Linked DNA regions of Homo sapiens: regions 1, 3, 4, 5, 6 and 7 are each linked to region 2. Evidence: promoter capture Hi-C in 16 types of primary human blood cells and fetal thymus (Javierre and others, 2016). All regions are on one chromosome and are shown on one strand. The core of a region is centred on a gene start or on the middle of the fragment in contact, and the rest is flanking DNA. Distances in the headings are between cores, read along the strand shown.

The links. Contacts are between HindIII fragments. The CHiCAGO score rates a contact against its expected background, and 5 or more counts as called.
Region 1: a fragment that was not itself captured here is called in contact with the fragment with the promoter of PGRMC2 in region 2 in 17 of 17 cell types (neutrophils, total CD4 T cells, fetal thymus and 14 more); the score reaches 11.0 in neutrophils.
Region 3: a fragment that was not itself captured here is called in contact with the fragment with the promoter of PGRMC2 in region 2 in 13 of 17 cell types (non-activated CD4 T cells, naive CD8 T cells, naive CD4 T cells and 10 more); the score reaches 10.7 in non-activated CD4 T cells.
Region 4: a fragment that was not itself captured here is called in contact with the fragment with the promoter of PGRMC2 in region 2 in 1 of 17 cell types (monocytes); the score reaches 5.4 in monocytes.
Region 5: a contact is called between a fragment that was not itself captured here and the fragment with the promoter of PGRMC2 in region 2, in 1 of 17 cell types (neutrophils). The highest score is 6.6, in neutrophils.
Region 6: a fragment that was not itself captured here is called in contact with the fragment with the promoter of PGRMC2 in region 2 in 6 of 17 cell types (total B cells, naive B cells, monocytes and 3 more); the score reaches 13.0 in total B cells.
Region 7: a fragment that was not itself captured here is called in contact with the fragment with the promoter of PGRMC2 in region 2 in 1 of 17 cell types (neutrophils); the score reaches 5.6 in neutrophils.

What each region holds. Positions count from the first base shown.
Region 1 is chr4:128,868,067-128,871,850 of GRCh38, forward strand. It overlaps JADE1 (jade family PHD finger 1), which reads left to right. Exons shown (of 11, transcript NM_199320.4): 11 at 3,289-3,784. Among named protein-coding and RNA genes, the nearest start is that of JADE1, 60 kb to the left of the region's middle. The HindIII fragment of the contact is 4,763 bases long and covers 1-3,784 here.
Region 2 is chr4:128,285,527-128,289,799 of GRCh38, forward strand. It overlaps PGRMC2 (progesterone receptor membrane component 2), which reads right to left and starts at 2,287. Exons shown (of 3, transcript NM_006320.6): 1 at 1,847-2,287. The coding sequence starts at 2,264. RefSeq lists silencers at 1,927-1,986, 2,167-2,216, 2,227-2,406, 2,727-2,916, 3,288-3,582. The HindIII fragment of the contact is 4,970 bases long and covers 743-4,273 here.
Region 3 is chr4:128,848,192-128,852,287 of GRCh38, forward strand. JADE1 (jade family PHD finger 1) reads left to right here. Exons shown (of 11, transcript NM_199320.4): 5 at 789-976; 6 at 3,866-4,077. Among named protein-coding and RNA genes, the nearest start is that of JADE1, 41 kb to the left of the region's middle. The HindIII fragment of the contact is 9,059 bases long and covers 1-4,096 here.
Region 4 is chr4:127,629,353-127,633,226 of GRCh38, forward strand. INTU (inturned planar cell polarity protein) reads left to right here and starts at 3,605. Exons shown (of 16, transcript NM_015693.4): 1 at 3,605-3,828. The coding sequence starts at 3,683. RefSeq lists enhancers at 3,253-3,792, 3,455-3,634. The HindIII fragment of the contact is 1,090 bases long and covers 1,708-2,797 here.
Region 5 is chr4:128,887,563-128,891,500 of GRCh38, forward strand. SCLT1 (sodium channel and clathrin linker 1) reads right to left here. Exons shown (of 21, transcript NM_144643.4): 19 at 3,497-3,575; 20 at 1,117-1,212. Among named protein-coding and RNA genes, the nearest start is that of JADE1, 80 kb to the left of the region's middle. The HindIII fragment of the contact is 3,764 bases long and covers 1-3,331 here.
Region 6 is chr4:128,916,359-128,920,251 of GRCh38, forward strand. All of the region lies in intron 18 of SCLT1 (sodium channel and clathrin linker 1), which reads right to left. Among named protein-coding and RNA genes, the nearest start is that of JADE1, 110 kb to the left of the region's middle. RefSeq lists an enhancer at 814-863. The HindIII fragment of the contact is 409 bases long and covers 1,378-1,786 here.
Region 7 is chr4:128,936,307-128,940,138 of GRCh38, forward strand. SCLT1 (sodium channel and clathrin linker 1) reads right to left here. Exons shown (of 21, transcript NM_144643.4): 18 at 349-545. Among named protein-coding and RNA genes, the nearest start is that of JADE1, 130 kb to the left of the region's middle. The HindIII fragment of the contact is 1,283 bases long and covers 1,521-2,803 here.

The sequences.
Region 1 (3,784 bases), core at 1,086-3,585, 580 kb after region 2:
ATAGAAGAATTTAAGAAGCATAGACGTTCATATTTAAAGGAAGTCTTTAATTTGAGGCATCATGTTTAAGGGAAAAAGCTATGAATTTGCCCTCTATAAATATGGGTGGAATCCTGTGTTCTCTGCTTACTGAGCAAACACATGAAAGTCTTTTGAGTCTCCCTAATTTCTTCATGTGCAAAATGGAGATATCGCAAGCTACCTCTTGGAATTGAGAGACTAAAATGAAACAGTGACTTATATATTACACAGTACTTGGTAAACACATCATGGGGATACCTAACAGGTTTATATTCAGCCTTGGGCTCTATCTGTAACATGGTAAATATGGTCAATATATGTTAAGACTGTACTTAAGACACAGTCCATTTTTAGATAATGTTCACAGTAGATTTTTTTTGTGTAGATGGATTGTTGACTATTTCTGAGATTGAGCACCAAATATTTATTTAGTGTCTTCTATTTTATATTGCCCTGGGCTAGGCAAACAGAAAAAGAAAACTAGGGTATATACTTCCTCTACTCTGGACAACACATCAGTTACTTGGGAGATCAAGGGCAAAGATCAAGTTGGGCAGGTTGTTTAACCTCTCTGAGATTCCGTTGATCTTAAAGTTTGTTTTAGAATCAAGACCCCTTAAGTGCATTTGAGCCCTATATTCTGTGATCATAAGCCCCCAAAAGTAGGTAGTATAAGGATTTCAGAGAAGCAGAGCTGCTGAGTGTGGATCAGGCAGAATTAGGGACCCATGGAACAGGTAGGTCTTAGACTGGACTTCATTGGAAGATAGTCAGCCTCTCTCCTGCCTTGGACTGCCCTTTAAAGTTCTAGCTGCACCATTCTTGGTGCTTGCGTTGTGCAATCATAGTTGATTCACTCTTGTTTTTGTGCATTTGTGGCTTTTTGTCACTCCATCTAGATTATTATGGTGCACAGAGAACAAAGAAGTTGTTATAACCTGTTGTGTTGAAATCCAAATTCTGGTTTATCTAACCAATTATGTGCGACTAGAGGGAGCTCGGTCATCTGAAGAAATAAAAAAAGGTTTAGGGAGGTTTAAATAATGTTCTTGAAGTGTTACATAGTTTGAATGCAATAACTTGTTGATATCCTAGATATTTTCTTCCCAAGATTAAGTATTTTCCAGGTGAATCAAGTGTATATCATTAGCTGGAACTTGCAGTTTAATTGTTAAGATTTTAAAAATAAATTTTCTAAGTAGGGTGTCATATGTAAAAGTAGGTCGATTCAGATTCCCTAAGGTGAGCTCTCTCTTCATGATTCCTACCTGAATACAAATAAATGAGATCTGTTTAACTGCCTTGGAAGACTGTCTGGTGCAGATCACCGAGCCTACAGCAGCAAATGCTGAGCTGGGATCACTAATACAAGTTGTGCCTGTGGAGTTGTGCCATTGGAGGGCTTTCTGCAACTCTTAGGTCATTATGTAATGAGTGATTCCCTGTAAAAATAAGCCGTAAAGAGCATTTTCATCTGGTTTCATTTGAGTTATTTCTCATGGATATTGCAGGCAGGTTTTTGCATTTCATGGCTGAGGTTTTTACTGGGTGAGCGAATGATATTCTTAATAAGTCTGGGAGTTATTTTGTGGTAACAGAGCTGTAATGTAGATCTGCATTCAGAAGTCCTACTATTTCAGAAAAGGAAAACAAATCTTCCTTTCATTCTGATGTAAGAACCATAGGTATGATCAGTTGAAAACATTTATCTTCCTGTAGGATTCTGTTGAGTAATGCAGTTGAAACCCTTTAGGGTGCTTTTTTTCTTTTTCCAGTCCTAGGCTTCAGTCGTGTTCTTATTCATGCCTAAAGGCTGTCTCCTGCCTGAAGTAGAGCAGATGGTCATGATTTATATGTCATTTAGGGTCCATGGTTTAAACTCTGTGATTCTGAGAGTGGGTAGGGTCATTTGCTGAGAGTGTCCTCAGTGGCAACAGTGCTTATGGGGGGTGGGAGGGTCATGAGTTGGAGGCTCTTTAGAGACATGGATTACAGTCAAGGAGATAGAAATCAGAGTTCAGAAAATGTTAGCCTCTTCTTACCATTCTCTTTTCCTGTGGCAGGTGATTGAGTAAAAGAAATATATGCAGTGTGATGTGAAGGTTGATTCTAATGATTGATTCTTGAGAAAGCAGCATTTCCAAACCAGCAGGTTGTAAAACACCTCCTGTGGTCATGACAGCTCTGTGTTCTGAGTCGCTAGCTATGTTTCATTTGCTTGCAGTGTCTGTGTCTGGTGAGCACTAGGTTCTCATATGGCCTCCTGTCTCATAACCTGGGGGCTGAACCTTGTTTTCTTGGTGGCTCATATCTTATGGGAGACAGAAAACATGAGAACTGCTCTTTCTAGATGATCTTGAGGCTGTTGTAGAATCATGGTCTTTATGACAAACACTAATGTGTTATGAATTCACCTGCTAGGGGTAACAACTCATTAGTGGGTTGTGAGATGAATTCAGTGGGTCATGACCAGTATTAAAAACAAGTAAAGTATAATAGGAAATGTCAGAGTACATTATCAAATGATGAGGGTTAATATTATTTCGTGAAATGTGAACTCTTACTAGGTCATGCTGTGGAATTTAGTCACTGTGATTTGCATCAAAAAATACGAAAAACATCAATTTAACTTACTTCAAGTTGAATGACAATTCAGTTGAATCCCACAAATGTATTTTGCACATAATAATAATGAACATTTTTGGAACGCTTACTATGTGTCAAGAATTATTTCACACATTTCCTTTATTCATTCACATGTTTACATGTACTTGTCCTCGTAATAGCCCTGTGAGGGTACAGACACATAGAGAAACTTACAAGCCCCGAGCCCTGCTTTTTGGGTCCTCTCAGTCTCGTACGGGAGGCAGAAGACTGGACCGTGGAGGAGCGCGGCGCAGGTGCTGCTCTGTAACCAGGTAGAGGGAGCAGAGGCAGCCATCAGCCACCTGATGAGTTCTGCATGGAGTCCGCTCTGAAAATCAGATCAGTTATTTTGTTTGGAGGAGGTCTAGTTTTATGAAAAATTATGTGAGCTTCAGCTGTTTTAGAAAATGTGGCATATTGAGTCTGCAGATTGAATGGAGATTCTCAAGGCAGGTCATCTCTTCACTATAAAAACCAAATTTGTACAAACTTGGTGGTGTAAGTGTTGTGTTGTTGGGTGGGGAGTTCACATCAATTGGGCCACACTAAGGGTGTAGAATTTTATTCTTTTGGATTTGCTTCTGCTGTAATTTTTCTTTATTTGTGGTTTTATGTTTATAGGTGTGCCTTCTTCCTGCTCCTCCTCCTCACTGGAAAACATGCTTTTGTTTAACAGTCCTTCTGTTGGCCCTGATGCTCCCAAGATAGAGGACTTGAAGTGGCATTCTGCATTCTTCAGAAAACAAATGGGTACTTCCTTGGTTCATTCGCTGAAAAAGCCCCATAAGCGAGATCCTTTGCAGAATAGCCCTGGAAGTGAAGGCAAAACCCTGCTGAAGCAGCCAGACCTGTGTGGTAGAAGGGAGGGGATGGTGGTCCCAGAGAGCTTTTTGGGTTTAGAAAAGACCTTTGCAGAAGCACGTCTCATATCAGCACAACAGAAAAATGGTGTGGTGATGCCAGACCATGGGAAAAGAAGAGACAATCGTTTTCATTGTGATCTCATTAAAGGAGACTTAAAGGACAAATCTTTTAAACAGAGTCACAAGCCTCTCAGGTCCACAGATGTGTCCCAGAGGCATCTGGACAACACAAGAGCTGCCACCTCCCCTGGAGT
Region 2 (4,273 bases), core at 1,037-3,536:
GGCATAATGTGTGAGGACTAATACGATTCTTTGTACTAATACTTTGTTTTCTTCAGTGGCAGTTCAGACAGGGTACAAAAGCTGATCTTTTAGCTGGGTAAGGTCTATATTAAAAATTTAAACCTGTACAGGATTTCTAATCACTTAACACATTTTAATACCAATGGGGGAAAAGCTTGAACTAGGTATAAAATGCTGTCTAAATCCTTGATTTAAAAAAAATTTACTTCGCTTGGCCTGTTTAAATACTGTACTTTGGCCCTGTTCTCTTGTCCCACGTGTGCTTAAGTAAACAAAAATGTATTAACCATTTCAGTTGATATAAGTAGGCAGACACCTTGTGTTCACATTTATGTAACCAGAAGCAAAAACTCTGTAAGCTATGTATTTACTTGGTTGGATTAAATGTGTATATATACACAGAAGTACAAACAACTAAGAAATAAATTACATAATTCAACACCAAAAATCTCCTATTTCTTATCCCTATTCCAATGAACAAACTACAAACCAAAGCACTTCTAAAATATCTTCCAGCTATCAAGCACTGAAATCAGAAGTATATATTTTTAAGTGTCAATAAATCTTATACACCTACAGATTAAATTAAGGAGAAAACCAGCTTACTTCCAGACTGCCAACCCTATGACTTTAAGGCTTGGAGGTACTCTCTCCAATAACAGGTCACTTTAGGTCTCTAATTTAATTATTTATTCTTATTGTAGTCACCACTTTTTTTTAAAGCTTAGTATTAATCAGTGCACAACCAGGATGCACAATGTTGCTCAACTGTATGATATACCAACAGGTTCCATGAGTCTGGGGTTTATTAACATAATCCAAAATGTATGCTACAACCACACTGTAAAAAAAGGGCGTCTAAATCAACTACCCTACACAAAGTTCCCTGAAAACAAAGTTCTCTCAAAACAAAGTTCTAAAAATCTTTAACTTGCATAACTGGCACATGGGGGTATAAATCTACAACTCTTCTAAGTTTTTTCTCCTTAGTTCTGCTAAGTGAAAACACAAGTCATTATCAACGTGTACTTGAAAAGAGAAAAAAAAAGAAAAAAGAAACCAGAGACACGCCTGCTGGGTATAGGAGCTCCACCCCCAAAACTCAAGGTGAATATCCTTACCAGTCTTTAATAAGCTCTGCATTCTGGTCTGTTCTCATCCCACATACCTTGTTAATCATGGAAAGCAACTCCGAACTAAAACTGGTTTAAAGAGAGTCCGAGGTGTTGCTTATACGTCTGGACTTCAGAGACTGGAGGGTTGGGACTTTACATGCCCCTAAACGTGGCCTTACGGAGTAATACAGCGAGGGAAAAAAGGAGATCAGTGGCAAAAAAAAAAAAAAAGGGGGCAAGGAAAAGAAAACGGTGAATTACAGAGCCCAAAACTTTAGTTTAGGTCCCAACTTCAGAAATCTCCCTTCCCTGGTGCCCCATCCATCCCAGGAATCAGGAGACTCAAAAAAGGTTAAGGGCCAGCGTTGACCTGTGACAACTAAAACGATTTTGAAAAATCCAGCCAAAGAAACAAAAAAAAAAGGCTGCGAGGAGAAATGGGATGGAAGAAAGATGAATGCTGAGAGCTGGTCTCTGGGGCGCCACCGGGGACCCTGGTTTCGGGGGAAGAACTGGAGGTGCCCGTAGCTGCGGGGGGACGGTGTGTGTGTAGGGGCGGGATGGGCCGTCCCAGGTGCGGCGGCCGAGGCGCGGGGGTCCCGGAGACGAGAAGGCTGGGCAAACTAACCCGGTGCCCAGAGGCCTCCCTGTCCGAAGGGGGTTGTGCTTCAGCTGCAGGGGGTCCTTCCCCTCCCCTTCCAACTCCTCACCCGGGCCGTAGAACTTGCTGCCTTTGGTCACGTCGAAGACTTTCCCATTGACCGCGAGCAGGATGCGCGGGTTGCGGGAGCCGTCGTACTGGCGCAGCTGCTCCAAGCTGAAGTCCCGCTTCTTCATGCGAGGCAGAGAGGTGGCGGGGCTCTCCTCGCCCGCCCCGGCCCCGGCCCCCAGACCCCGCCGCCCCCAGCGCACCCACAGCCGGTAGGCCCCCAGCAGCACCAGAGCCACCAGCGCCACGTTCAGCAGCATTTCCCCGCCCCCCGTCAGAAGCGCCAACGCCGCCGCCGCCCAGCCTCCCCCTTCCGCTGCCGCTCCCGCGTCGCCTGGACTCTCGCTGCCGCCGTCGTTGCTGCTCTCGCTGCCACTCCCCAGGGTGCCTAGCTTCACGTCCCCATCACCAGCCGCCATCACTGCCCGCCAGCGCCTTCCTCCTCCTCCCCGCCCCCTGCCCTCCCCAACCCCACGGCCGGCCCCGCCCATCTGGGGGCCTCTCAGCCAATAACGTGAGAAGAGGGGGCGGGGTCAGGCCGGCTCCTGATTGGGTGTTGACGGGGTAACGTTGTCTCGGATCTCCCGCCCCCTCCCTTCTTTCGCTGGCCGCGCACGCGTGCAACGCCCCGCCCACCTCGCCCCACACTTCCCTGCTCTCACTCCAAGCCTCCGCTAGGTTAAGTAGACGAGCCGGGCGGGTCTGAAGAAAAGATGCTACGACGGCCGCGCGGACGCTCATGGGCGGGGCGAGACCACAGCGCGTGCGCGGGCTCCTGAGCGCCACGCGCTCGCCTTTCGTTCGTAACCCCTGCGGGAGGCACGCCCCGCCCAGTCTCCAGGCTCTGCGCGTGCGCCCTGGAATCGCTTCCCTTCCTAGGCCTGCGTTCGCGTCCGCAAACTCCCGCCTCCTTGCGCTCCCCCCGCCCGGGAGCTTCACGTGCGCCTTGGCGGCCGCGGGGGCAGGTCCGGGCTGGACGCCTGGCGGAGGACGCGGGCAGGTGGCTTGTGGGAGGCTGGGGCATAGTTGAGCTGCAAGGCGCAAACCGATGAGGGGCGTCTGCTTTTCACCAGGGCGCCGTCGCTTTTGTCGGGAAACCGGCAGCGTAGGCGCGCAGACCGGGAAGCGGCAAGAAGATTTGGCCACGAGCTGGGGTCTTCCTGGAACGGAGAGAAAGCACGGAACCCGCACCGGGCTTCTCTGGCATCGGCAGTCTACGTGCTCCTCGCGCTGGCACCGAGCAGCCACTCCCCGCTGGGTTTGGCAAAGGCTGCTCTTGTAGAATTTTAAAGGATTTAGAGTCTCATTATTCCTTGAATCATAACTTCTGCGGCCGTAGGGAAGTGGACAGGTTGAGGTGGTCTTTCTATTCGTCATTCACTCTTATTTGCAGGTTCTGTTTCATGTACTTGGACGTCTTTTAGCCTCTCACACCTTGAAATTCTAGTGTGAAAAAGTGACCTCTGAAGTCTCACGCACTCAACTCGTTTGACGAACTCGTTTGACGTGTTCTCTCTTGCCCTTTGTTGTCTGTTGTCTTGAGTCTCATAGAATAGGTTTGAACCTTTCACTGTCGGTTTTGTAGGAGTCACTGAGGATATTGACGAGGCAAGTGACAGGGTCGACACTCTTGTAGAGAGGCTGTATAGCAACCAGGTGTCTGAAGGATTAGAGGCTGGGGAAAGAGTGGGAAAGCAGTTAGTAGGCTAGGGTATTTGTGCGTGAGGTGAGGAGACTCAGAGCTAGGGGAGACATTAGAGCAGGGGTTGGCAAACATTTTTTGTAAAGGGCCCGATCATATTTTAAGTCTCTGCCTTAACTACTCAGCTCTACCTTGTAACGAGAAAGCAGCCATAGACAATACTTGAATGAGTGTAGCTGTCTTCAGTAAAACTATGGACATTGAATTTTTAATATAATTTCAGGTATGAAATATTCTTTTGATTTTTAAGAAAATCATTGAAATATGTAAATTTTTTTTTTTTTAGTTCTGGAGAGGTGCAAAAACAACTTATAAGCCATATTGCTGAGCCCTGCATTAGAGGTACCTGAGGGAGAGCGACACAATTGGTAGTAAATGACCATATACTCTATCCTTCAATATGGAACACTTTTGGAAGTAAAGTAGGGCATTAATAATTATAGCCAGAGACCAGGAGTTATATCAGTTTTATCCCAGGCAAACCTAAAGGAATAGTCACCTTAAGGTTAAGGGTTAGGAGAAGTCAAAATTGCTTTAGGACTTGGTAACAGAAAATGGGAGGTGCCAGTGATGGAAATAGGAAGATAAAGAAGAAACTGGTTTTGAGGAGAAGATAGCTGTAGCAGTCCCAAGAGCTGTATACAGTTGAGACAACATTGATAGGAAGGAAGAAAGCACCCCAGAAGCAGGCCACTCCTTATATCTTATTGACCAGAACTGGGCTAT
Region 3 (4,096 bases), core at 144-2,643, 560 kb after region 2:
TGCGTTTGAGACAGTCTCACTCTGTTGCCCAGGCTGGAGTGCAGTGGTGCAATCTTGGCTCACTACAACCTCCGCCTCCTGGGTTCAAGCAATTCTCCTGCCCCAGCCTCCCGAGTAGCTGGGGTTACAGGCGTGTGCCATCATACCTGGCTAATTTCTGTATTTTTAGTAGAGATGGGGTTTCACTGTGTTGGCCAGGCTGGTCTCAAACTCCTGACCTCAAATGATCCGCCTGCCTCGGCCTCCCAAAGTGCTGGGATTACAGGCTTGGGCCACCTTGCCCCAGCCCAAGGCCTGATTTTCTTTTCCCTCTCTCCCTCTTTTTTTTTGTGAGGTGTGAGGGTTGGCGGGTTTCTCCCTCTGGTTCTCAGAGTCTGCTGCGCCTGCCCTGCCTGTGTGGTGCCCTGGTTCTAATGGCCTCCAGCAGGGATGGGCAGGTCTGGTTAAGGGAAAGTGATTTAATGACTAACTCTTGAAATGTATGGGTCAGTGTGTTTTGGTGTTGGCTGCAGGCCAGAGTGGTCAGAGGTGGTGGGCAGGGCACAGCAGGGTCCCGGGAAGCAGATTTTGAAGGCTTCTACAGTGTTTTCATTTGTATCTATTGCCTGTTAGCAGGCTTTAACAACTTCTAGTTAAGGTTTTATTAGCAGTGACATTCAGGTTTTCAGCCTCTGGTGATGACCTGGGGCTCTAAGGGTTGGAAGAGGAAGACATTTGGGGCCTTGTGGCACACTTCATTGTCTGTGGCTGAAAGGGTAACCTGGCTGCCTTGTTTTTTTATTATCCAGGGTTGTGTCTGAAGAGAAATCCCTCATGTTCATCAGGCCCAAGAAGTACATCGTGTCATCAGGCTCTGAGCCTCCCGAGTTGGGCTATGTGGACATCCGGACGCTGGCTGACAGCGTGTGTCGCTATGACCTCAATGACATGGATGCTGCATGGCTGGAACTGACCAATGAAGAATTTAAGGAGATGGGTGAGAGACCATGTATTCTATTATTTTATTAACCAATGATGAATAGAGACATTTTAGGCAGGTAGGTGAGTAGCAGAAAGCTCCTTATTGCCAGTTGCAGGCAGCTCCATCATAGCTTTAGTCAGTGAGAATCGCAGCCCTGCCTTAGATCTCAGCCTGTTTGGCTGTGTCAGATGTGCTGAGATGGTTTCAGAGTGGAAGCAAGGCTCCTCGGCTCAGGCACCAGGGATTCCCATCCCCGCTCTGATCTAACTCCCTCATTCACTTACCTTAAGGAAGCTGAAGTCCAGGGAAACGAAGTGACAAAAGGGCATGGCCCACAGTTACCTGCTCTAGTGTTTTTTTCCTGTGATGCCATTCGGATTCCTTCTTTAGCCGTGGTTTGCTGCTTCTCTAAATGAACACTCTTCCAGGCATGCTCCCCATTTCCAAGCACATCATGTGTGTTTTAACTTGAGCGATTTTCCTTATGTCATGCTGCAAACCTGGAGTTCTTTTTCCCTCCGTTTATCTCTGTCCTGGCTTTCCTTCAGTGAAGCCTGACATTAGCTGTGTGCCCAGCCCTTCTCCACCTCTTTTCTGCAAGCTCATTTTAGCGTATGTAGACGTTGGAGCATCTCATGGTGTTGAGACTGGGATGGCGTATAGGTCTCATCTCACATGCCAGTCCTGATTGCTAAGGGTTGCCTTGAGGGTCTTGATGAACAAGACAGTGGAGTCAAGTCTGGGCTCAGTGTGAAAAACTGTGAGGATTAATTAGCTTTTGTGCTGTAGGTACACGGTGGGGAGGTGGTGGCAAGGGCCATGTATTGTAATCTAGGACATAGTAAATAATCACAAGATCGGCCGGGCTTGTTGGCTCATGTCTGTAATCCCAGCACTTTGGGAAGCCAAGGTGGGCAGATCACCTGAGGTCAGGACTTCAAGACCAGCCTGGCAAACATGGTGAAACCCCGTCTCTACTAAAAATACAAAAATTAGCTAGGCGTCGTGGTGGGTATCTGTGGTCCCAGCCACTCAGGAGGCTGAGGCAGAAGAATCACTTGAGGTGATTCTTCTCAAGTCACTTGAGGGGGTGGAGGTTTCCTTGAGCCGGGATTGTGCCACTGCATTCCCACCTGGGCAACAGAGCCAGACTCCATCTCAAAAAAAAAAAAAAATCACAAGATTTTTGTCATGGTGGATTTCACAGCCTTGAAGGGCCAAGACCTTTTGCGTCTTTCCAGGGAACGTAGCATAGGGTGTGGCTTGCAGTAGATGCTTGTCCTGCCATTAGGCTCACCACCTGTTGAATGGGAGTGATAATGTAGACTGAGCTGAGCATGGTGTTGTCTTCTACTCGCTCAGTTACTCAAGTGTTTTTATAGACAAAATAGACTTCCTTCTTCTTGGTCCTGCTTTAGGTATTAATGGCCAAAACATTAGCAGGCCACAAGGTGGTTTTATGGCATGAGTTCAGGAGTTCTCAGAGATCTTTTGGAATTGAATACTAAATTTTAGCTTCACAGATGATACAGTTTCTGCTGTGTTGTAAGCACATTATAAAGACCAGTGTAATACACTTGACTGGAATCTAGGTGTCCTGTGTTAAGTCAGAGGACTCAGCCCAAAGACTCTTCGCATTTATGAATGGTTTAAATAATAAGAACTGGGCTAATCCATATTTGAAGATACTGTTGAATACATTGGCAAGATTAATTTTGTAATTTTATAACATAAACGGAACGCATGCTTAAATATGTTTGTCTTAGCTGTTATTGGTCTTTTTTTCTTTCTTTTTTGAGATGAAGTCTCGCTCTGTGGCCCATGCTGGAGTGCAGGGGTGCAATCTCGGCTGACTGCAACCTCTACCTCCTGAGTTCAAGCGATTCTCCTGCCCCAGCCTCCCAAGTAGCTGGGATTATTGGCACCTGCCACCATGCCTGGCTAATTTTTGTATTTTTAGTAGAGACAGGATTTCGCCGTATTGGCCAGGTTGGTCGTGAACTCCTGACCTCAAATGATCTACCTGCAAAGTACTGGGATTATAGGCATGAGCCATCGCGCCTGGTGTTTCAGTCTTTTTTGCATTTGGTTAACTATGTTTTTCAACCTTGTAGAAGTAAGAGGATGAGGAGGGATAAACCATTTAAAAATATTTGAGTGCCCAAAGTGAAATCTGTTTTGAGAGAACTGTTTTACCTACCAAGAAAGGCAAATTTTTAAAAACATCCATACCATTATATGAAGTCATGGTTTTGAAGTCACTTACGTGTTAGTTGTTATGTGTAATGAGTATAATGAAATGACTTATTCAACAATGTATGTATTTAATATCCTTGAATCCTTTTAAAATTTACCTTTTGCTTTTCCATTTACTACACTGCATCTTCACTACCTGACCATAGGAAAATAACAGTTTCCTGGAAGACTCTCCCCTTTGAAGATTGTTTCTTAGAAGGATCTGATAAGCATTTAATAAAAAATTTTGGGGCCCTCAGAGATGGATGCATCGATGGGTTGATTGATTGATAGATTGAGACACGGTCTTATGTCACTCAGCCTGGATCACAGTGGCACAGTCATGGCTCACTATAGCCCCAACCTCCTGGGCTCAAGCAGTTCTCCCACCGCAGGCTCTTGAGTAGTTGGGACTACAGGTGTGTGCCACCACGTCTGGCTAATTTTCATATTTTTTGTAGAGATGGGGTTCCACTATATTGCCCAGGCTGACCTTGAGCTCTTGGGCTCAGATGTGAGCCACCACGCCTGGCCAGTGATTGGATTTATTTATTGTACAATTATTTATTCATTATACATTATTTTTAAGTATAAATAAACCAGTACTATTTTGTAATATTTATTAATATGGATTTATTAAAATGGGTTTTGTGGCATTTTTAACTTCAGGAATGCCTGAACTAGATGAATACACCATGGAGAGGGTCCTAGAGGAATTTGAGCAGCGATGCTACGACAATATGAATCATGCCATAGAGACTGAGGAAGGCCTGGGGATCGAATATGATGAAGATGTTGTCTGTGATGTCTGCCAGTCTCCTGATGGTGAGGACGGCAATGAGATGGTGTTCTGTGACAAATGCAACATCTGTGTGCACCAGGTATGTGGGGCAGGGAGGC
Region 4 (3,874 bases), core at 1,003-3,502, 660 kb before region 2:
TTTTACCATGAAACTCAAAATAATGAGTATAGGGACTCCAGCTTTTTAAAATAATATTGTTTCTCTGATTTTAAAAGTAATACATTTTTTGTTGGATCTCAATGCTAATGGAAATATTTGTTTCCCTTCCTTCCTGTCTCCACTTTCTTCAAACTTCCGACCCCATTACTTCCTCCATCACGTTCAGCTGGCAAGGTTGCAGCCTACTTACCAGACGATAAACACTGTCACATGGAGACTGCCTCAGCTTCCTGCCTGAAACTGGCAAGTCACCATCCACACCAGCACCCTTCTTTGGCTCTTTCTTCTAGTTTTAGGGAAGAGGTGTCCAGGGAGGTCATATCCCTCCTTCTGTGCCTTGGATGCTATCCCCTCCTACCACCTCAAGGACCTCCTGTTACCAGAAAGGGGTCCCAATCCAGACCCCAAGAGAGTTCTTGGACCTTACCCAAGAAAGAATTCGGGGCAAGTTCATAGAGTAAATTGAACGCAAGTTTATTAAGAAAGTAAAGGAAAAAAGAAGGGCTACTCCATAGGCAAAGCAGCGGCATGGGCTGCTTGACTGAGTATACTTATAGTTATTTCTTGATTATATGCTAAACAAGGGGTGGATTATTCATGAGTTTTCTGGGAAAGGGGGAGTAGTACCCAGAACTGAGGGGTCTTCCCTTTTTTAGAATATATTAGATAACTTCCTGACATTGCCATGGCGTTTGTAAACTGTCATGATGCTGATGGGAGTGTCTTTTAGCAACTAATGCTCATTATCCTCACTGCTCACTGTACTCTAATTATGATTCGCGTATAGTGAGCAGTGAGGATGACCAGAGGTCACTTTTGTAGCCATCTTGGTTTTGGTAAGTTTTGGCTGGCTTCTTTACCGCAGCCTGTTTTATCAGCAAGGTCTTTGTGACCTGTATCTTGTGCCGACCTCCTATCTTGTCCTGTGACTAAGAATGCCTAACCTCCTGAGTAGCAGCCCAGTAGGTCTCAGCCTTATTTTACCCAGCCCCTATTCAAGATGGAGTCGCTCTGGTTCAAATGCCTCTGACACTCCTTTTGCCCATTACCCCTTTACAAACTCCTCCTCCTGTTCTTCAACTTTAGTAACATATAGACCTCTTTTAAGGAAAAACTATTGTGGATTTCCATGGATGACTTAAGTTTTTTAATTATAATTTTAAATAAATGAGGTATAATCTGTGCTTTATAGCTCCTATATAAGATGAAAACAATTTTATGAATTAATACAAATAAATTACAAAATGTAATCGCTGTTATAACACTATAAAAACACATTTAGAAATTAAAACAAAACCATAAAACCTAGGAAATTCAAATGTATATAGTTTAATGTACATTTGTACATGTAATATACAAATTCAAATGTACATAGTTTAATGTATATTTGTACATGTAATGTACAGTTAATGTAAATACAACTAAACTTCAGCTTAAAAGTATAAGCTGCATACTGCAGCTTGTTTGGCTGTGAGGAAGGTAAAATATACTATCCTGGCCATTTAAGTTTAATACACTTGAAAAACAGCAAGTGCCTTTGTGCTGCTTCTTAAAAGCAACAGATGAAGCTCCCATGTGAAAGACACCCTCCCTATACTAGAAAAATGTAACATTCTTATTCTCAAGGGCATAGAAGTGAAACCAAGAGAATTCTGTACAGACCTTGTTAAAATAACTTATCTTTTAAGCTTCCCAATTTAGTTTAGTTGCTTCTTCACAACTAACTATTCTTTGTCCAATCCAGTATATAAGTTAACTGACTCTAACTGCTTCTTTGGGTCTTCATTTCTTTATGAGGGCTCCCCTGCCATGTAAAACTTGGATTCTAGAGCAAGGAGAGAGGTCTGTCTGCCAGGCTCAAATTTGCGAGGTGGGAGTGGGTTCCAGCCTATTCAGGGAATGGCCAGTTGGCCTGTATAGATGAAGCACAGAACTGAGAGAAAATTTAGGGCAGTTCCCCAAGTTTGCTGAATCACAGGGGGCACTTGTTTGAAATAGAGATTTCCAGGCCCCTCCACTGGAGATTCTGATCCTGTTGATGTGGAGCAGGGCCTCAACATCTGTATAACAAGTTCCAGTTGCTTTTCTTTTGTTAATCTATTTTAGGTAAGTTTAATTCTCAGGCCCAGCTGGGACCCTAAGAAGATGGAGGTAGAGTTTTTCTGCCCCTGCAACAGCTACAATTCAGGTTCCTTTGAGTTCTCCATGCATATACCCATACCGGCCATGTGATGACTCATCTCCCATTACTCTTTCTCTGTTGGAACCATGCCATAATAACAATATAAATTAATACTTCCTCTAAGAAATTTGTCATGGCCCCACGTATACTACTTTGGTTTTTTCTGGATATTCCATTAGAACCTTGTATTTATTGTAATACTTATCACTATGTTATAATTGCCCATTAGAGAATCCCCAGCACCCAGCCTTTTAGATCATAAAATAACATTATATCCTTTTTTTACACGCTGCAACATGAACATTTCCCCCATGCTTTACTCTTTGAACACATTCTAGTTAAAATCATAATCATCATATTTTATATATATTTAACTTTTCCCCCATTATTTGACATTTTAAGATTGCTTTCAGCTTTTCACTTTTACAAATTTTATAAATTTGCATCCTTTCTCAGAGTAGATATCTAATAGTTGAATTACTGGGTTCTGAGGGAGGAAATTTCATGTAATGGTTATTGACTTAGGTTCATTTCTTGGTTGACTTTGTTGACTGCTAGCCATGTAACCATTAGTAAGATGCATAACTTCTCTAAAGCTTAGTTTCCTTATTTAATATAGAGAAAATATTTACTTCATAGTATGTGAATGCTCAGCATTGTATATGAATAAAGTGAGCAGAGCCAAGGCTGACTCTCAATCAATGCTAGCTGTTATTTTTGTACTTAAAAAATACTTGATATAGGTATTCATAAATAACAGGTAGATTTTACCTGTTTACACTTCCAACTTTAATAATGAGAACACTTAATTAGATTATAAAATTTTGAGTTAGAAAATGAACATGAAGTTGATTCCACAGGATTGCCACTCATTTGTGGCACTCTACAATACCCACTTGGGATAACCGTGAAAATGTTTGCAATTGCGAAACAATATGAAACCCATAAAACAATGGAGCGTATTTACATTAACACCTAGATCGCGTTGCTTAAAAGCGTCCATTACTTGCACGGATGAGGTCCTAAGGAAAGGTAAAGTGCGGTTTCCTTCACCTCGAAGGAAATCCAGGCTGACCGACAGCTGTTAGGCATTAGAAACACAGGACAAAGAGCAAACTGGATATCCAGCACTGGAAGAAAAAGGTGAGAAGCCCAGTGCATCTCCGCCTGTTTTAACAGGTTATGCTGCTCTAAGGAATTGCGTTCCGGAGAGCGTAAGCGGTGAAGTTTTAGCTATTTCTATCCTTCCAACTGAGAAGCCCTCCTGGAAGTTTCAGCCCATTGGCTGCTTTCTGTTCTCCCTGTTTCTTCTGGGAAGCTTCTCCGTCTCCCTGGCAACGCGACCTGCCACCAATTGCAGCTAAGGATTGGTGGTCACATGGCCTCTGCCCCTTCCCAAGCAGAGGCAACATGGCGGCCTTAGCAAGCTATAGCTGCGAGATTTGAATTACTCCACTCGTAGCTATTGCATTCCTGACGATGGCCTCTGTGGCTTCGTGCGATTCGCGTCCGAGCTCAGACGAGCTCCCTGGAGACCCCTCTTCACAAGAAGAAGATGAGGACTATGATTTTGAAGATCGGGTCAGCGACTCGGGTTCATATTCCTCAGCGAGTAGCGATTATGAGTAAGGTTTTCAAAGAGGGACAATTAATCCCATCCCATCAATCCAG
Region 5 (3,938 bases), core at 200-2,699, 600 kb after region 2:
TTTTTGTTTTCTCGCCTCCCCTATCTATCTATCCATTTCAACTGTCTGTGTCTAGTCTATAATCACTGAACTGGTCTCATTTTGTTCCTCATATGAGGGACTATTGCTCCTACTTTACAATCAAGGGCCTACTTCATTTATATGATGTGTGTGTATTAAGAGAAATTATCCCTTAGTATTTCATTGTTATTCTGCATTTTCTACTCTATTTCCCACTGGACAACTTTTATATTGTATTTTAGATTTTTTTGGTCATATGAAAATATGCATTAAGTAAATTAACTTGTAAGCCAAGGAATTTTTTTCCACTGATAAGTAAAATAAAAACAAAGTTAGTGAAATTTGAAATATTACATTCAAAGCAATATTATCTACTTTCAAATCTGTTAGTGAATCTCTGCCTGGTTTTAGATAGGACATAATTCTAGAGCAGTGTTGTGTAACAGAACTTTTTGTTATGACAGAAATGTTCCACATCTATGCTGTCCAATGTGATAGCCCTAGCTACATACAGCTATTGAGCACTTGAAATCTGACTAGTATGATGGATGATTTCAATTTTAAATTTAATTTAATTTAAATTAATTTAAATATAAATAGTGGCCTGTGGCTAGAGGCTATGATTGTTAGACAGTATATGTCTTTTCTGTTTTTTTTTTTTTTGTTGATACAGAGTGAGGGTCTCACTCTGTCCGCCAGGCTGGAGTGCAGTAGCACAAACGTGGCTCACTGCAGCTTCGACTTCTTGGGCCCACGCCATCCTCCTGCCTCAGCCTTCCCAGTAGTTGGAAACAGAGATATGCGCCACTATATTTGGCTAATTTTTAAAATTTTTTGTAGAGAAAAGGTATTGCCATGTTTTGCAGGATGGTCTTGAACTCCTGGCCTCAAGTGATCCTCCTGCCTAGGCCTCCCAAATTGCTGGCATTACAGTTGCGAGCCACCACGCATAGCTTATTTTTGTTTCCAATGTTTACTTTTTCAACCTCACATATTAAAGGGATTAATTTTAAAATATGTTAATCTAGTAAAAATAAACTATTAAGTTCCCTGGGAACTTCTAAAAAACTTATCTTTGAACTGTTTATTATCTAGGGATAAGAGGATGCTCCCTACCTGCTGGGAAGCTGAAGCAGCTCTCTCTTCTGCCTGACTTAGACGCCTTTGAAGTCTGTTGGCTTTTTCTTGATGCTCTAGAATTAGCTTTTCATTCTATTAAGGGGAAATAGAAAACAAGTTAGAAATCCATATGTGACATGGAGATGTTTTGTGGAATAATCAACGAAAAATCTGGACATCACTTTACCACTTATAAAATACAAAGAATATTATCTCCAAATTTACATTTTTCAAGTTATGAGCTTTAAAATACAAACTTTGTTTTACATTCTTAATAAATTGTTTTCTTTCTCCCACATGCCAGCAAAGAAAGTGAATTAACAAATCTCAAAGCAAAATGACTCGGAAGAATAAGACTTTCAATTTGTGAAGGTCACTGCTTCAGAATCACCTGGACTGTGAAAACACAGACTGCTGGGCCTTACAACCAGAGCTTTAGTAGGGGTGGGATGAACTGTTTCTGTATGTTCCCCAAGACATCTGCATACTCCAGAGTCTATTAGGGTCAAAAGAGCTATTAGGCACTGTTAGGGGTTGAATTGTGTCCTAACCCCCAGTATCTGGGAATGTGACCTTATTTGGAAAGAGAGTCCTTGCTGATGATCAAGTTGAGATGAGATCATTAGGGTGGACCATAATCCATATGACTGGTGTCTTCATAAAAGGGGAAATTTGGACACAGAGACACACATGTACAAAGGAAAGACAAGTTGAAGACACAGAGAGAACACAATCTACAAGCCAAAGAATGTCTGAGGCTACCAGAAGCTGGGAGAAAGGCATGGAACAGATTCTCCCTCACAGCTCTCAGAAGGAACTAACAATGTCAATACCTCAATTTTGGACTTCTAGCCTCTGGAACTAAGAGACAATTATTTTGCGTTGTTTAAGCCACCCAGTTTCTAATACTTTGTTATGGCAAGAACTATACAGGCATCATGAATACAAAGCTGTCACAACATACTGTCAGACAGACAAGTGCAAATAATCTATCAATTAAAAAATGGAAATTAAAAAATGGATTAGCTCTCTCCACACTTACTAGCCTGGTTATAGTACATCTGAAAAAAATATTTTTGTACAACTAGAATTGTTAAACAGTTTTTCTGGCACTTATCTGAATGAGATAATAATACAAGCCTAATCAGGAAGAGTTAGAAAAACACATTTTCTATGAAGAACCAGAAACTTATAGTTCCCATGTCCTAACATACAAGTGATAAGAATGAATGTTATGGCTATTACAGTAATATAAAATATTGAAATAACAGTATCCTGCTAAAATGAGCTTATTATATTTCTTATTATGCCCAAAAGCAAAATTAAATGTTATGAAGAGAACTATATTGGCTGGTCCAATTTACCAAGATGTTTAAATATGTAGCCTCTAAATTTTAAGAAGCACATCATATGCTAGAGAAAACGGGGGAAAAAATTCCATCATCTGTAATAATCATTTTCATATTTATACGCAGACTTCATATAATGCAACTTCTTCTATACTGCTACCATAATGGTTGAGGAACAGTTCAGATTGGATAAATCCTAGTATATGCAACTGTTCCTTTTCTATTCATCATTTTGGTTGCTTTTGATCTTCCTATATTATTAACATTACTGTACTGAGTACCTTCTTTCAAATTTTTTTTGTATTTTAAATTACTCATTAGAATAGATATCTGGAAATGGGAGCTACCTGAAAGATTATTTCAATGGCTATTCCTCAATTAACTTCTAAATGGCTCATATCAATTCATAATGCCATGATGCTTAGGAGTAACGATTTCACTATAGCTACTACAGTAGACCACAAAGATGGAGTAGACCATATATTCAGAGAAATTCCAACAAACATTTGAAGTTAGAACATCAAATGAAGAGATCTAAAAAGCCTCAATCATAATCCAAAAATTGTTTACTTTTTGAATGCCTCAAGGAAAAAAACTTGAACTCTTGCTATATTTAGTTCTAAGGCATAAATCTAAATATATTTTAATATATTCCAGTAGGCAAAAGTATTTTTTATGTGATGTGTCTTTTGGGATGGATTAAAATGAAAAAAGATGAATGGGTTAAAAAATAATTTTAGAGATGCATAAGAATAAAGGGGATCCTAATACGTTCTCTGAAATACTACACAAGTTCTATTGGTAAAACAGAAATAAGAGCTCTACCTTTTATTATTTACATATGATGAATCACTGATGTTCAAAGCTTTTATTCACATTATATTGCGTGTGGGCTTTTAGGGTTATGGATGATTTCTGTATTGTTATTTCCAAGTAGAGAAATAATTTGGATTTGGCTCAGGTAAAATTCTATAACATGTGTATCATGCTGCAGCAGAAAGCACTTCCCAGGGGAGTCATTATCTCACCTCAGCTACCTTTTCATTTGCCATTTCCAGCTGAGAAAGCAGCTCTTGGGTATGAAGTTTCTGTCGACTCAGCTCACTCCTATTAAGAGCACCAAAAAATCCATTAATATAATTGTTCCAAATAGAAAACAGAATCTTTATTAGCAAGATACATGTTCATGATTTGAACAAAAATATCATCTTGAGGTGGAAAATAAAGTCACTTACTAATAGACCATATCTCAAGGACTTGTTTATTTCTTTTTAACAAAACACACATATACTCTAGAGATTAGTTGCACAACAATGTGTATACATGTAACACTATTGGATTGTACACTTAAAAATAGTTAAGGTGGTAAGTTTTATGTGTATTTTATCATAATTTAAAAAATTTTATCACAATTAAAATGGTAAATTTTATGTATATTTTGCCAAACTAAAAAAAGCAAAATAAAAATAC
Region 6 (3,893 bases), core at 332-2,831, 630 kb after region 2:
ACCAAATTGATTTGTTACTTTTTTTTGTTCTGAAAACAATGGGAAAATCAAATGTAATGAAACCAATAAAGGAGTAGCACTGCCTTTCTCTTATACTTGACCCAAAATATCTGCCAAGTGGCAGAAGCTTTCTCTGAGTAGATTTACAGTTTCTAATCACCAAAGCATACTGACTGACGAAAAAGCTAAAAGACTTGAAGTCTTTACAGGACATCCTCAGCACAGGCAGTCCATCATTAAGGAAGAAACATAGTTAAAAATTACGGTACATTTTTTCAAGATGTTTTGAAGATTTCAGCCAATGCAACAGACACTTACTTTTTCATCTACCGTTTCAACACAGTGTAAAAACAAATCAAAGTTAGGCACTTTTGGTCCATTAGAGCAATGTGTCCTTGTATCATAGGCTTAGGTTCCTATACTATAAGTTGCTTCAAGGTATAGTATAGTTATACGTCTTGACTTAGTTCTGACTTGTCAAGACTTAAATGTCTTGACTTAGTTCTGAGACCCTGGCAAAGAGGCTGGTCAGTTCCTGTTTTGAGAAGCTGAGTGTACAACTCCAACCACTTCCCTTATTGGGCTGTCACATTCTGGGCCACTACATCTGCCGTAATCACTCTAGGGCCAGGAACCAGAAAAAACCAACCAACCAACCAACCAAACCAGAAACAGCCACTACGCCGTGGAGCCCACTGAACTTGTTCACATCAGCCAATCTAAAACTTGTTCACCATGGCGTCACCTGTTCCTTTCTGTAAAAACCACAATAAAATGTGTGCTCACAGTTGCCCCCTTCACCTTCTACCTCGTGACTGACCCCAGTGCTTCTCGAGTGGTCCTGTGTGGTGTGCTGTGTTTGTCCAGGGAACTGTGAGCATAACAAACTGTAAAACTCTTTCCATTTTCTCTCTCTTGATCTGCATCTGGCCTCACCATCTCACACAAAGTAATATAGTTAAAATATAATGGTACACAACATATTGATTTTAGTCAAGAAATAATATTAAGATCAACTACTGTTTCTTAATTATTATGTATTATTTAAGTGCCACATTGGTTTTAATGATCCTGATACTAATCCCCAGCAATAGTTCTGATAATTTATTTTATAGCCACAGTCCATTTCAATTTCCAGGATGCTGTAATTGACCACAGACATATGTAAACTCTGTATGGGACAATAATTATTGGAAGCCAAGTTCTCGATTACTGTGCTAAGTGAGGTGGGATACTTTTAAAGAATATATGTTTGGATCTAGTAAAGGTATACTAAGTTATTCAGATTAATCAATTCAGTAAAAACTCCACAACTCTGTAAAAGCATCAAACAGAGGAAAATATAGTGAAAATGTTCCAAGACAACTTCTGAATGAAAGCTTATAATGAGAAAAGCTAACAGAATCTTGGAGCACCAATACTTCCTCTTTCCTGGATGGCATTTACAATACTGCACACTTGGGATCTGACCCTGTTACCACTGAGAGAAAGGGGTGTGGTGGAGAGATCCTCTCCATCGTTGATCTGGCATCCCAAAAGAGCATCACTTCAAGGTTAAAGTGAACCATATCTGAAAGCATGCCACTTCTCTCAAAGTCACAGGACTACAGGGAAGCTACTTTGGTTATGAACAAAGCAGAAGAAAAAACGTATTCTTCTGTGGCCACAGACCACAGATACACCTCAAAATTAACAAAGCCCAGAAACCCCACCCTTAGTTGAAGTTCTCACACCCAGTAGTGCTCTCAGGCACCCAGAAGAGGCAAAGGCAAAGATTCTCTATGGAAGCTTTACAACAAAAATTTTCAATGGCAATTACTAATAAATAGATAGAGAAACCAGATAAGATGCTTAGGAACCAAAAGAAACAGATCTGTCTGATGACAGATATTGGAGTGGTCAGAAACAAACTTTGAAACTAAGGAATACAATAAAATGGTACAGGACATAAAACACAAAATGATCACTCTAAGAAAGGACCAAACTGAACTGATAGAGCAGGAAAACTCACTTCAAGAATTTCATAATACAATCAATCACAAGTATTAACAGTGCAATCAACCAACCTGAGGAAAGAATCTCAGAGTTTGAAGACTGGTTTCTCTGAAATAACTCAGATAAAAACAAAGAAAAAACAACAGAGAAGAATGAATAAAGCTTCTGAGAAATATAGGATTATGTAAAGAGACCAAATGTATGATCTAGGATCAAACCTCCACATACCAATATTAACCTTGAATGTAAATAGGCTAAATGCTCCAAATTAAACGGCATAGAGTGGCAAGTTGGATGAAGAAGCAAGACCCAACTGTATGTGATCTACAAGGAACCCATCTCACATGCAAACATACCCGTAGGCTCAAAATAAAGGAAAAGAGAAAAACCAAATGGAAAACAGAACAAAGCAGGGATTGCTATTCTAATTTCAGACAAAACAGTCTTTAAACCCATAATGATCAAAAAAGACAAAGAATAACATTACATAATGGTAAAAGGTTCAATTCAACAAGAAGACCTAACTATCCTAAATATATATGCATCTAGCACAGGAGCACCCAGGTTCATAAGGCAAATTCTTAGAGACCTACAAAGAGACTTAGATAAGCACACAATAATAGTGGGAGATTTCAACATGCCACTGACAGTATTAGGCAGATGATCAAATCAGAAAACTAGCAAAGATATTCAGGATCTGCACAGGACATTTGACTAAATTGGCCTAACAGATATTTATAGACCTCTCCACCCAAAACAAACAGAATATACATTCTTCTCATCTGCACATGGCACATACTCTAAAATTGACCACAATCAGCTGCAAAACAATCCTCAGCAAATTAAAAAAAAAAATCATACTAAACACACTCTTGGACCACAGTGCAATAAAAATAAAAATCAATACTAAGGAAATTGCTCATAATCATATGATTAATGGAAATTAAACAACCTGCCCCTGAATGACTTTTGGGGAAACTATAAAACTAAGGCAGAAACCAATAAATTATTTGAAACTAATGAGAACAAAGATACAACATACCAGAATCTTGGGGACACAGCTAAAGCAGTGTTAAGCAGAAGTTTATAGTGCTAAACGCCCTCAAAAAGTTAGAAAGACCTCAAATTAACAACTTAACATCACACCTAGAGGAACAAGGCAAACCAACCCCAGAGCTAGCAGAAGACAATAAATAACAAAAATCAGAGTTGAACTGAAGGAAATAGAGATGCAAAAAACCATACTAAAGATCAACAAATCCAGAAGTTGGTTTTTGAAAGAATAAGATTGATAGACCACCAGCTAGACTAATAAAGAAAAAGAAAAGATCCAAATAAATAATCATAATGACAAGGGGATATTACTATTAACCCCACAGAAATACAAAAAAAAAATAACCTCAGAGACTACTATGAACATCTCTATGCACACAAACCAGAAAACCTAGAAATGGATAAATTCTTAGAAACATACAACCTTCCAATATTGAACTAGGAAGAAATTCAATCCCTGAACAAACCAATAGTGAGTTCAGAAACTGAATCAATAATAAAAGTCTATCAACCAGAAAAATCCCAGGGTCAGAAGGATTCACAGCCAAATTCTACCAGATGTAAGAGAAGAGCTGATACCATTCCTACTGAGACTACTCCAAAAAATTGAGGAGAAGGGACTTCTCTTTAACTCATTCTATGAGGCCATAATCATCCTGATATCAAAATCTGACAAAGACACAAGAAAAAAAGAAAACTTCAGGCCAATATTCCTGATGATCATAGATGCAAAAGTCCTCAACAAATACTAGCAAATTGAATCCAGCAGCACATCAAAAAGACGATCCGCCACAATCAAGTAAGCTTTATTCCTGGGATGCAAGGTTGGTTCAACATACACAAAT
Region 7 (3,832 bases), core at 912-3,411, 650 kb after region 2:
CAAAATCTCAAGTTCATCTGAGGAAGGGTCAGAGAATTTTTTTTCAAGGGCCAGAGAACAAATATTTCAGGCTTTGCAGGCGAAATAGATTTTGTTGCAACTATCTAAACTAATATATCCAACAAAAACTATTACATTTTCTGAAACATGCATGAAATTTGTAAAAAATATAATATTTGCTTTGGTTTATGACATAATATTTTTATAGTAGTTTCATAAATATTTACTGAAGAAAAAGGTAAGGTCCAGAATTATACATTTTTTAAAAAAGATTATGGCAAGGACATTAAACTATAGGTTAAAGAATTTCTTCTGTAAAACATGTCAAACAACTAACAGTAGACTTACTTTAGATTATTGATTCTAATTTCTGCACTTTCAGTAAGTTTCTTCGTTTCTTCTTTCCACCTATTGGCTGCCTTCTGTTGAGTCGCTAGGAGATGCCTCAGTTCAACAATGGAATTTCTATTACTGTCTTCCATCTCTCTCAATTGAACTTCAAATCCACGTTCCTTTATTGAAAATTCATGTTCCATTGTACTGATCTAAAGAATAAAATGAAAACGTATTTTCTTTTTCTTTTCTTATAGGTGCTATACAGATCAATGATATATACAAAAGGAATCATTCATTATGTTGTCTGAGGGACAAAAATGTTTGGATGAGAAAACTACGTAAGAAATCAAGTTTGGTCAGGTGCGGTGGCTCATGCCTGTAATCCCAGCACTTTGGGAGGCCAAGGTGGGCAGATCACGAGGTCAGGAGTTTTGAGAGCAGCCTGACCAACATGGTGAAACCCCATCTCTACTAAAAATACAAAAATTAGCTGGGCGTGATGGCACACGCCTGTAATCCCAGCTACTCAGGAGGCCGAGGCAGGTGAATCGCTTGAACCCAGGAGGTGGGGGTTGCAGTGAGCTGAGATCGCACCACTGCACTCCAGCCTGGGTGACAGAGTAAGACTCTGTCTCAAAAAAAAAAAAAAAGAAAAAAGAAAAAAGAAATTAAGTTTACAATTGGTCTTCATTACAAACGAAAACTTATAATGTTATGTCAGTAAAACTAGAATTATGATGAACTATATATTTTTGCAACACTTTCCCTAACACCTTAAAATGCCAGTAAAAGAAAAGTCTATTTATTATAACATAACACTTCTCTCTTTATTTACTCTGATTTCTGTTGCCAGAATCCAAGGAAAGTGTTGATGCTGTTGGTATCTGAGTTAAGTATTTACTCAAACCACTTTTGACTTACATACTAAATTTGAAACTCTTTCAAAGGGCTTTGTAAAGTCAAAGATAATTATATACAGGAATTTCTTTACCACTTCAGCTCCAGTATTAGTGAATGATTAATGAATGAATTATTTTTCAGGAGAAAGAGACAATATAAACAATGATTTTGAAAATCTCTTACGAAAATGTCTTCAGTACACTTCTAAGAATTTATGTCATTATAGTAAAAGCACTTTAATTGCAGCATGAACTTATAAGTAAATGCTCTTTGGATACCCTAGAAGCTTTCTCTGCTGGGGTTCAGGGAGAGAATTAAGCCCTAATGCTTTAAGGCATCCAATGTATATAATGACTTGCGTTCTTTCATCTGTGTCTACAATGTAACTACCTAAGTACCATTTTTGGGGAAATTGAGAAAAAAGTTACTGCAATATTTTTCTATGTTTTGTGGTTCAGATGAAAAACACTTGTGGAAAAAGGCAGCAAGGTGATTTGACTTCCTTATTGTACTCTCAGGCCATCTATATTTTGCTATACTAAAGAAGTATAAAGAACACTTATTTTGTGATACTTTAATTGCTTTACAAATGTCCACAGCTGGCTAGACTTCTAGTAATTCATTAAATACAGTTACTTTCAAACTCAAAAAACAATGAGAGTAATTCATTAAATACGGTTACTTTCAAACTCAAAAAACAATGAGATCAACTTTAGTGTGTCAAAAAACACAAAACAAGGCCCAACAACAACAAAATTCTTGGCTCACTGGAGCAAACTGCAAACATTCTGTCCTTGCCACCCCTGCTAAATGCAAAATGCTTCCTAAAACTCTTCAATTTGCTTTCTCAAATAGTACACATGCAGAAATTGAAGACTTTATAAATACAGACACTGGAAAACCAATCTTGGATGTGTTAGTTTTGTGTTGTATTACTGCTGTGCAAGCCTCCTGAGGCCACTTGACCCCTGCTGCTATCTTAATAATTTTTGAATTATTAGATTCTGCAAATTTAGATTGCCTGCCCTTTCTCCTTCCCTTCCTTAATCTTCATCTCCTCTGGAGAAGTCATGTTGGTCTAACATCTCAGGTGGAAAACAAAAAGTACAGCCCCTGTGAGTTCTTTCTTATGAACACATGTTAAAAACTGATCTATGGGCCAGGTGTGGTGGCTTATGCCTGTAATCCCAGCATTTTGGGAAGCTGAGGCAGGCAGATTACTTGAGGTCAGGAGTTCGAAACCAGCCTGGCCAACATGGTGAAACTCCATCTCTACTAAAAACACAAAAATTAGCCAGGCGAGGTGGTGGGTGCCTGTAATCCCAGCTACTCAGGAGGGTGAGGCAGAAGAATCGCTTGAACCTGGGAGGTGGCAGTGGCAGTGAGCCAAGATCACGCCATTGCACTCTAGCCTGGGCAACAGAGCTTCTCAAACAAACAACAAAAACAACAACAACAACAAACCACATATGCACACAAAACTGATCTATGCATCTGTACAGTTTTAGAATTTGGCTGCCTAGTTAACTCCCCATTTTCACTTGGAAAATCTATTTATCGTTTCACAAGCTTTGCTTTAAGACCCTTTATGATAACCTGGTCCCTGCTTACTTTTACAAGCTTGTGTTGTGCCACACTATTCCCTTGCCTTTCTTTTATTTCCACTATAATGCCTTTTTATTCTTTGGTTCTTTTCACATGCTGTTTCTTTTGCCTGAAATAATCTCTTTCTGCTTACCTATTTCAACTTTTGGAACACAGTACGGTTGTCAAAACATATTTGCAGATTGAATGGTGGCTTTTTGATGTCAAAATTCAGTCTCGAACAAGCACCATAGCCTTTAGTATATACAATTCGAATTACTACCTAAATTGGACAGGTCTGTGGTAATGCTGACAGGCTAAGGGCCACAACAACTGATCTCCGATTACAAAAATTCTATTAATGATAAAATTCAGAATGTTGGATGGGAAAAGGGGTTTTATGGTCTCTCTTCTTTCTTGCTTCTTCCTTCCTTTACAGAGAAATATCCACACAAGTAGATAACTGAATTGCTGGAAACGACTCCATTTCTTAATTTTAGATGGTAATGAGGCGGAATTTAGACCATGAAGAAATGGAGAGCCCTGGCAAAAGGAGTGGTTAGAAAAGGAGAAAGCGAGGGCTGAAATCAATGCAGTGGCATTAAGATCAAATGAAAACTTCATATGATAAATTGTTAAGGTTTGTAGCCAACTGACCTCCCAATATCTCACTGTCTTTATCTTTTTGGCTTCTTTCAGTTTATCTACTGAAGATCATACTCTTTTGCAAGAGGGAGAAAAACAGCAAGGTGTAGGTGCACCAGGTTCCTATTTTGTCAAAGAAAGAATCAGTTACAAAGCAATTTATCTTACAGCCTTCTTCCTCCATAAAATAGAATTATAGCTAGTTAGTTAAGACGTTCGGCTCTTTATCAATGGCTATTCTCTTAAGCTAGATACAGATTTGGTGAGATATGTGGGGTAGATAAACTTTCTATTACTCTTTTGTTGTCCATAACATCAGTTACTATCCTGAAATGTTAAAGACGGATCTAGTGGAGTACTAGATAGG